3 separate regions of the Homo sapiens genome follow, and all the other regions are linked to region 2. Evidence: promoter capture Hi-C in human tissues and cell types (Jung and others, 2019). All regions are on one chromosome and are shown on one strand. Each heading gives the region's core, a stretch centred on a gene start or on the middle of the fragment in contact. The rest is flanking DNA. Distances are from core to core; before and after follow the strand shown.

What was found. Contacts are between HindIII fragments. The study calls those that stand out against the background at their distance.
Region 1: a contact is called between a fragment that was not itself captured here and the fragment with the promoter of EMB in region 2, in 1 of the 25 tissues and cell types used here (dorsolateral prefrontal cortex).
Region 3: a fragment that was not itself captured here is called in contact with the fragment with the promoter of EMB in region 2 in 1 of the 25 tissues and cell types used here (lymphoblastoid cells).

The regions. Positions count from the first base shown.
Region 1 is chr5:50,856,401-50,859,716 of GRCh38, forward strand. No RefSeq gene overlaps it. Among named protein-coding and RNA genes, the nearest start is that of LINC02106, 110 kb to the right of the region's middle. The HindIII fragment of the contact is 3,727 bases long and covers 1-3,316 here.
Region 2 is chr5:50,439,844-50,443,069 of GRCh38, forward strand. EMB (embigin) reads right to left here and starts at 1,445. Exons shown (of 9, transcript NM_198449.3): 1 at 1,197-1,445. The coding sequence starts at 1,308. RefSeq lists silencers at 989-1,178, 1,259-1,388. The HindIII fragment of the contact is 6,914 bases long and covers 422-3,226 here.
Region 3 is chr5:50,726,683-50,729,869 of GRCh38, forward strand. All of the region lies in intron 2 of PARP8 (poly(ADP-ribose) polymerase family member 8), which reads left to right. Among named protein-coding and RNA genes, the nearest start is that of PARP8, 62 kb to the left of the region's middle. The HindIII fragment of the contact is 3,467 bases long and covers 1-3,063 here.

The DNA of each region.
Region 1 (3,316 bases), core at 343-2,842, 420 kb after region 2:
ACTGAATCATTTTGTATGCAGTGTTCATACAATCTCTCCATCCATATTTTTTGAATCAATTTTGGCATTTAGAATGGCTCAGAAAAAGACATTGGCCAGGGAGAAAATCTTTATAGGAATAAGAGGAACAGCTGCTAATCTAAATGCTACTCATAACACTCAGAGAGTTTGCCAACAAGTTCAACAGAATCTTGGAAATGTCTGCTCCAGAAAAGCTTGCGATCAATTCCAATGCCCATCTCATGCCCAGATTGCACAAGGGAAATCCAGTGATCCTCTCATAGAGTGTTGAATGCAACATCTGCAAGAAGGGCTGTTGGGACAGGCTCTGTCCTGCAAAATACAACAGAATGAAACCTGGAAATTGTCACAACAATTTACATCACCTGGAATACAGTGACACTGATAATCCTCAGGACTATGAAGCCTTGGAATGATATGAGATTTATGAGGCCTAAAGCAAAACACCAGAGAAAATTCAATATGTATAGAGAACTCAAATGCCCACACGAGGGAAGTGAAAGCTATGTTCTGCTTATTTGACATCATGTGATAAAACTGCCATTCAAAGTGTCTTCCTGTGAAGCAGTTTGTCAGAGTTGTGGAAGGAACCGTGAGATCAAAATGACTATTTATTTTGTACCTGTTTCCATTTATCTATTAAGGTAATCAAGATGTATATTGGCCACTTATAATGTGCAATTGCCACAAAAGGAGTTAGGAATACAGAGATGAAATAGAATGAAATGCTTAGACTGTTTTGTGAAGGCTGAGAAAATGTTTCTGATTTTTCACCACGGTTCCAAACCTGGGCATTTTTGCCTTAGAATCCATTTTGCACTCTTCCTCTGCTGTGCTCTGTACCACTGCGAGTTACAAACCTACAGATGACACTTCTCAGGCTCTTTTCATCGAGGGTTTCCAAATTAACTAATAACAATAGAAAGGACTGATTGATTGAAGAACAGGAGAAAGGAGCAGCCAGGGTATTTCTCCCTCAGTTTGTTCCTGTGATGGCCTCTCCAATAGAAGCTGTTTCTCCCACATGGTTTCAGGTAGCTTTCAAAGGCTAGTAGCTTTCATAGGCAGGTAGTCATGGTTCCAGTTTATGAAGGGTGACCACAGCTCCTGGCTCTTGCAGCATCACCTCTTTCAGCTTCCCCAGTCTTGGGATGCTGGTGATTTCCTATTATTAACTTCTGGCTGCTTCCATGGGCCCTGTTTGGATTCTAGTCTCCTCCATCACCTGAATTACCAATACTCCGCTTTAAACCCCCTCTGTTGTAAATATTCAAAATACTTTCTATTTTAGAACCTGATTAAGATAACTGCTGTATTTTCTGTGCCTAGAACAGAGTCTACCACATGTTTATTTGTGAGTCTACCACACACACACACATATATATATAATTATTTTTTTCTTTTTGAGACAGTCTCACTCTGTCACCCAGGCTGGAGTGCAGGGGTGTAATCTCGGCTCACTGCAACCTCTGCCTCCCAGGTTCAAGCAAGTCTCCTGCCTCAGTCTCTCGAGTAGCTGGGATTACAGGTGCAGCCACCATGCCTGGCTAATTTTTGTATTTTTATTAAAGATGGGGTTTCACCATGTTGGCCAGGCTGGTCTCAAACTCCTGACCTCAAGTGATCCATCTGCCTCTGCCTCCCAAAGTGCTAGGATTACAGGTGTGAGCCACCACACCCTGCCCTAACACATATTTAAATGAACAAATAGATAAATGGGGTGAAATAGTTGTACAGGTTGTTATAATACATACACATTATACATGATTAAATGGATATGCACTACAGGGACATAGAAGAAAAAAATTCTTGGTGTGTTTGAGAACTTAGGAAGATCTGAATTTTGAAGAAGAAATTTTCAGGTGAACAACAAGCAATGCTTTTCAAGTATTGGAAAACATGAGTCGAACAAAAAGACAAAAAAGAGAAAGGTATGAGAGCTCAGGACCCTACTTAGTATTTCCTCACAAGTAGGATATAAAATTACTGTCTGAGTATTATGGGAGTTAAATTAAAAGATGATCAGGTTTAGACTACAAAAGAATTCATGTCCAACCTAAGGAGTTTAGATTTATCATGAAGAACTACTGAAAAATTACTAGCAAGGAAATTACATAAGCACGCACAAAAAACCCTGATATCCATGATATGCCCATTCTAAAAGCAAACAAGCATTTTATAATCATTGAATGTCCACTATTTTATTTTGTGTCACAAAAAAACAACTTGGGGAAATATTTTATCTAGTTAAAATGATTTTCAATGGTAATGGATATTTCAGTTTGAAGATGCTTTTATAAATACTAATTAGTTAATACTCTCAGATTTTATAAGATTGTATTACAATAAACATCAACCACCTTTTGTTTTGTTTTTAACCACTGATTCATCATCTTATAATGTCAGAGTTGTGCTTCTTAAACAGGCTGCCAGATGGCTGCAATATGACAGTCACCTAAAACTCCACAAGAATGTCATCTACAGACTAAAATTATAGAGAAATTGGGAAAGCAGATGACAGGTTATTAGGAAGTCTTGTTTTTACAAATGTGTTAATCTGGAAGCTTTGCTAAGTTTACATTGTAGCCCCAATTACTGGAAGGAATACCTGACTTATTGCCTGTGCATATGGAGGAGTGGTAGCCAATAATGATAACTTGGATTTGTGAAGCACAGAGACTGTAGCATCACCTGCTTTGAAAGATTTTTAAAAATATTTTGTTGCCATTTGAATTTAGATATGATTGGCTTAAATGCCTAGGTCAATGCACTGTGGAAATCCAAAGCCTTACTCAAGATTTCTGTAGACTGTTCATGTAAAGAGATCTCCTTCACCTCCTGGACCCTGATGTATACAATTTCTGTGCTATTAAATCCTTTCAGCCACCTGTCCCTGGGGTTTCCTCACTGGCTCCTGATCAGCTATACATGCCACTATATTTCAGCTTCCTCACTAGAATACTTAATAAGGAATTTTAATGATACAATTTCCAGCTTCTTAAATGAATGTATCTTTATTCTAGCTTATCTACCATGTCCCATCTTAACTCAAATGAGGACAAAACTTCTCAAAGGAGTTAATTCAGCATATGGCATCAACGTAAGTCACTGTATCATTGGTGATATTACCATGGTTTAAATATCTTTAGGTCCTGGATCCCTTGAGAATCTAATGAAAGTATTTGACTGTCACCTCAAAGAAATCCACATGGGGAACAAATTGTGCATACAATATTGGGAAGTTATGGACCTTTCTAAAGTCCAACCATAAACCAACTTTGTGAGGTCCATGGAC
Region 2 (3,226 bases), core at 195-2,694:
AATAATGTCCCAATTTTAGTTACTGGTGGCCAATATTTACCAGCTTGAGAGGTGGTCTTTTATTACCCTTACTGGCTGGTAACATTTATGACACAGAAACTTGCAATAGGTTGGATGGAATCCTTTCAATATGAAAAGTAATTATAAACAGGTGAAGGTAGAATGGCAACTTTCGTGTTGGCTTTGTTAATGTTTTGCACGTAATCCCTCTGTCAAAGTGTCTTAAACAATAAAACAACAAGCAAAAATCTCACACATACACACACACACATGCACACACACATTTTGTTTTCAAAGACCACGGTGTAAAATGAAGATACACACACGTTATCCTGTAAGTTGTGGATCTTTGGTTGGCTAGTTGGTTATGATGTTTTTTCCCCTACTCAGCTCTAAAAAAACATCCTCGGCAAGGTGAGGTGGCTCACGCCTGTAATCCCAGCACTTTGGGAGGCCGAAGCGGGCGGATCACCTCAGGTTGGGAGTTCGAGACCAGACTGACCAATGTGGAGAAGCCCAGTCTCTACTAAAAATATAAAATTAGCCCGGCGTGGTGGCGCATGCCTGTAATCCCAGCTACTCTGGAGGCTGACAGAGGAGAATCGCTTGAACCCGGGAGGAGGAGGTTGCGGTGAGCCGAGATCACGCCATTGCACTCCAGCCTGGGCAACAAGAGTAAAACTCCGTCTCAAAAAAAAAAAAAAAAAAAAAAAAAAAATCCTCAAAGCCAACCCACCTGCCAAGAGGAGGGAAGGAGGTGATACTCGAGCCTTACTCTCGAATCAAGAAAAGGGAGTAGGCCTTGGGGAAATGTGGCTTTCAAAATTCATGCCATATTTGCCCAAGCCAAGTCGCTAGCTGGTCCCTGCAACCACCCACACACCCCACTGCCTTCTTCCTAGGAAAAACCAGACTCTGCCCTGTTACCTACGCGCCCGACTCGCGGGGCGCTGTTCGTTCAAGACTCGCCCCAAAGAGCGCAGGAACGCGAGCCGCAGCAGTTTCAGGGTTCAGCTTAGGTGACACAAACGTAGCTAATGGGAGGCCGCCGCCGACTCTCCCACCCGCCCTTACCAGCATCCCCGCGCCTCTCCCCGCCACCCTTGCCCGGCGCGCCGGCGATGCCCTCTGCCCGCGGGGACCCGAGCCTCGCGCGCCCTCCGCCCTCCCTACCCTGGACCCTGTACCCATCACACCTGGGGCACTGCCGTCCGCCGAGCTTGGGCGCGCGGCAGCGAGAAGGCACTGGAGGAGGAGCAGCCGGGGCGTACGCGCCCTGGCCTCCAGCAGGCCGGGGAGGGCGCGCATGGCGCCAGAGGGTCCGCCTGGGTCCTCGTGGAGACTGCTCCCTCAGCTCGCCGCCGCGGGTGTCCAGAGTCCCTGCGCACACTCGCAGGTGGCCCGGCGCTCGCAGCCAGTGCCGCGGGTAGGACGCTGAAGAAAAGGCGGAATGGGAGGGGCCCGGCCGCCTTGCCCCACTCCCCCGAGACGCTCTTACCGCGCCCGGCCCTCCATCAGTTATGCAGCCCTCAGCCGGCTGCTGGCGTTCCCGGATGTGCGGTGGCGGTGCTACTTCCCGGCTGCAGCCTCTCCGGCCTCCGCCCTCTCGGCTCTAGCAGGTCGGGAGAGAGCTTGGGCAGGTGATGTCTAGCCAATCTCGTGGGGAGAGGTCGAAACTCTGCCTACAGACTGGCCTTTGCACTTCACCTGAGGCAGGTTTCACTAATTTGCTTTGATGGGACAGATGAGAAACACTTTTCTCCTCCCGGACCCCGGACATCTTTGGGCTTTCTTACGAGGGAGGCTTATTTTTGCGCAGGTGTAAGGTTTTATCCAGCTGCCAGACAACTTGTGTTAATCTTTCTTTGCTTTGCCTACCAATCACACACATTCTCTCTTCTAGTCTCTGAAGGCTTAACTGATTTTCTCCGGATGAAGGTTTTAGAGTCCCAAGGCCCCATACCGTGTCTGATTTTACTTTATTTTTGTTTGTTAAGCCTAACAGCTTCTGAGGAGCCACCTAGAGCTCAAGAAGCAAAAGCTACTGAGAGTAGATACTATGTAAACTGCACAAGACATTGACCTTTGTTAAATCCGAACACTCTTTAAGATAATGCTCTTACCCACAAGGCTGTAGCTTGGAATATTCAGTGCTCTGAACCAAATTAAATAAATTAGTGCTTTATCCGGGAGGGGAGGAGAAATCTATATTGTAACATTGAAACACATTGATTTGATTTCTCTCCAGGATGTTATAACGCATTAAAAGATATTTTTAAAATTTTTCACGAGCTTTGTTTCCTCTCCCTTTATTTTTTTGAAGTTCAGCTTTCACATTCGTAAATTCAAAATATATCGGCGTTAAAAAAAAAAGGATTGGAAATAACATGAGACAAATTTTGAAAATTGAGCTATTTAACAAAACCTGTGTTTATTCCAGGCAGGAATGGTTAATTTGTAATTGGTACGTATTACTAAAACACGTCTGTTTCTGGTTTAGTATTATATGCACAAAACTTTGGAAACAGAATGTAGATTCTTCAAATTGGCAGTGAGATAATATGAATAATACAATTCATTCAACAATATTATCTACCAGGTGCCAATCTACCATTGTGTTCAAAAGAGGCTAGATAGGCACACATGCACAAATGCACGCATGCACACATGTACACACACACACACACAAATTAGACAACTGTTTATCTGTGAATGACAAATCTCAGAAAAGCCTCTTCTCAGAAAATTATGGTCAAAATTATTAAAATCTTCTGAATGAAACTTTAAAAGATGCCTTCAAGGACTAAATCTTATACACTGTTGACCCTCTGAGGGCATTGACTGGGCTTGCTAAACCCAAATTGCCTAATCAATGGCTGCTACATCACACCTCTTTCTTTCAACCCTGCATCTGGTCTCAGGACTAACTGCACACATTTCCCTATAATTAGGTAGAGTGTCAACAGTAAGCACTTCTCACCTCAAACTAAACTCTGACTGACTTTTCCCAGTTAGTCTCATAAAATCCTTAGACACAAATTCACCCTTCTTAAAGAAACATTTTTTTCAGTTGAATCAGCCTATTTATGACCAGAAAAACTTACTTACCCAAGTTGATGCTGATCCCCACTGTTGCTTTTGCTGTTGGAACAAAAGAGTTGAGAAAGAAATATAATTCTCATTTTGCTAAGCATTTTGAAAGTCTTTTCATCACTGTTCCTGTTCT
Region 3 (3,187 bases), core at 80-2,579, 290 kb after region 2:
CTCCTGAATATTCTCTGAGAAGGGCAAAACCACTGGGAATTGTGCAGGCTGGTCATATGCAAGTACAAAGGAGACGGTCTAGGGCCTGTCAACTGTGGATCATCTCTGTCCTCATGCTACAGGCCATTCTGCTTGCTTCTAAAGCAAGACTGCTTTATTTGGTAGGTTGGGTGGAAATATTGTAGAGGAAATTTGTATTTTAGAATAACACATCTCTCTGTTTCCTATATTAATTCTTTTTGTGGAAATAACCCAAAGATTGTGTCGTTAGGAACTACTCTCTCATTTGAGGACTAGGCCATCTCATGCTATCTGGTAAAGATGACATTTACAGTCATAAATCAAAACCATCTGAAATTTTCCAGGGTCTTTCTGAAGGTTGTGAGAAAAACACAGGCAATTCCTTTGTATAGTAGTATTTTGTGAGGGACAGGGCATAGCTCTGATAATAGTTTTTGGTAATCATTTTATCTTTAGTTTTCTACCTATCAGTGGGCTGTAGTATTTTTATGACTTCCTTTACCCTTCTTTAGATGAACATTTGAGATACTTCCTTGTACTAAGAACTGCAGGCACATTTAGACACGTTGTGAGTCAGACCTGGCTTTTGCGTGCCAACTACTCCCTTCTGTTGTTGGAGTGTACCCAGTCCCCGCTCCTGCTCCCACTTCCCACCCGGACTTGGTGTTCTTTTGAAAAAATGGACATGGATCCACTCAAACTTTGTCCCTGTTTTCATATTTTTGTTCTTTGTTTAGGTAGTATGTCAACTGCTTTGATCCAGCTTTTGGCCAGAGTACGTGTGGACTATATTGTTCAAAAGTAAAATACTTCTGTTAATGTACATGGCTTGTAGGCTTGTTTTTAGTTAATTTTGACAGAATGTGTGAATGTCAGTTATGGTCTATACCTTCCACTGTGCCAGGGGCTACATAGAGAAATAAAATATAATAACCACTAAAGGGAAGTTTGGATTCTACATTTAATTTGGAACTATAAGGCTGAAAAAGTGAAAATTTTGAAGAATGAGGATGGTATATTCAAATTCCGCAATTATTTTCTTTTACTCATCCACGTATTTTTGTCCCATCATCGCATCCTGCAGGAAACTTTCCTGGTACCCTTTGTCAAGTTATGGGGCCCTTATGTGATGCCACAATACATGGTGTGGTCCGCCTTCAGAGTTGAAAATTACAACTATAATTTTCATTTATTTGGGTGATACTTTAATTGTGTTTTCCCTTGCTGGACTAGAAACTTCTGAATTCAAGGCCCCTGTCTATTTTTACTTTCCACCTGTGTTGGCACAGAGTGGGTCTTCAGTAATCATTTACTTCATAATTGGTTGAATGAATGTGTGAGTTCCAACTACTAATGATCAGTGAGAGTTAATTTTTGAATTCAAAATTCTTGCCAGTGCCGAGACCTTGGGAGTGCCAGCATTGATTGCTTCTGTGTCATTTTTCTAGGTAGAAGTAAATGATGGCTTAAGTATTTCCTATCAATTCTAATGAATATTTCTAAGGCATTTCCCTGTTCCCTTTATTAATTGACAACATCCAGTGCAGAAGCTTCATTGATATTGTAATTTTAGAGTTGGGTATAAGTGATGAATTGATGCTATTGCAATTAGACTGACTTGAATTTATCTGTGAATTAGCTCATAAAAATGATTCTGTTGATCTTAACATTTTGAGTTTTGAGAAGGTTTTAATAGCATTTTGATTTATCTTTTAAAATTGACATCATTTTCATTTTTTTGTCTCTATGACATTCAGAGTGCAACTTAATTTGCAGTTTATCAATCTGTCTATTGTTATGGTGGGCCCTTGTTTTCATAGGAATCACACGTTTAAATTAAGGTCCCATAGTTTCCTCAGTTCCTAAAGAACTACACAGAATTTTTTTTTTTTGGCACCCAAATAAGTCAGTTACTGCTCTCCCAGAATTCGTTGTCTTTCCTTTCCTTTTTTGAGACCACTATTAGAAATATGTCCCAAAGAGAAAACAAAACTAATATTTTAATATTTAAAGTATTTTAATATCAAGGAAGTTAGCTGTTTTTGAGTTGATAACTTCTCCATCAAAGTTTAAAATGTTGCATAATGTATAAAGTATAATTTTGATGTCACTCTTAAAATGAAATTGTATAATAAATATTTTAGACTAAGTTTTTCCATATTTTATATTGGAGATATATATGTACCTGAAAAATACTTAAAAATGTGATGAGACAAATCAAAGATGTTTGTTGATGTTGAAAAAGGCAACTTATTATCTAATTTTTATTGGAACTGACTGAGAGTTAAACATTTTTTCTCATAAATTTACTTAGATATGTGATAATTTTATGGTCCAGTCTTATGGAACACATTAGTGTGCGGTTGTTCAAAATTGCTCCTCTTCTAAAGTGAAAATCTCATTCACCTAACAAAATAAAACTAGATAAATTTTTGTTTTCCTACTGCTTTGGTGACTATGAACTAAGTAAAAATAGTTTTTAGTAGGGTCATCTCATTGTTATAGGAACTCTGGATAACTAATCAATTTGCAAAAGTAATGCCAAATGGAGTGAGATATGCCTCCTTTCACAGAATTTGCTTTGCTAAGGAAAGAGCATACAGGGGAAAAAACTTTTTTTTCACACTTGGCTATTTAATACATTGCATAATTGTTTTAAATTGATTTCTGATGAGTTGCTAAATATGCTGTACAAACTGAATTAAACAAGTGTTGAAATGATAAAATGTAATGAAAGGTATTTGGACCAAAGGAGAACTAAGTTCTGGACCAAGTGCTGTGTAACTAGGACAAATTGATAGACCTCTCTGAGCCTTAATATTCTTGCGTGTAAAATAAAAGGAACAGATAGATGGTCCATTTTGTAACTCTAGGTCTGTGAGTGTTCTGGGAATAAATTTTGTTTTTCTTGCCGTTCAGAAAGCTTACTCTTTCTGAGTTATTTCTTTTCAGTTAGGTGTGAATATCTCCTCAGGCATCTTCCATCCATCTCTTCAAGATTAGCTGTCTCAAATGTTTTTCCTTCTCTTCTTTACTGATAAATTTGGACTCCTTCTTGACACTGATGACAGCTTCAGTATCCTTCTTGTCACCTTGCAGACTTTAAACATAAAAATACTCATTGGTTTTAAAAGGAAAAAAGTATACATTAGGACTATTAAGCTTG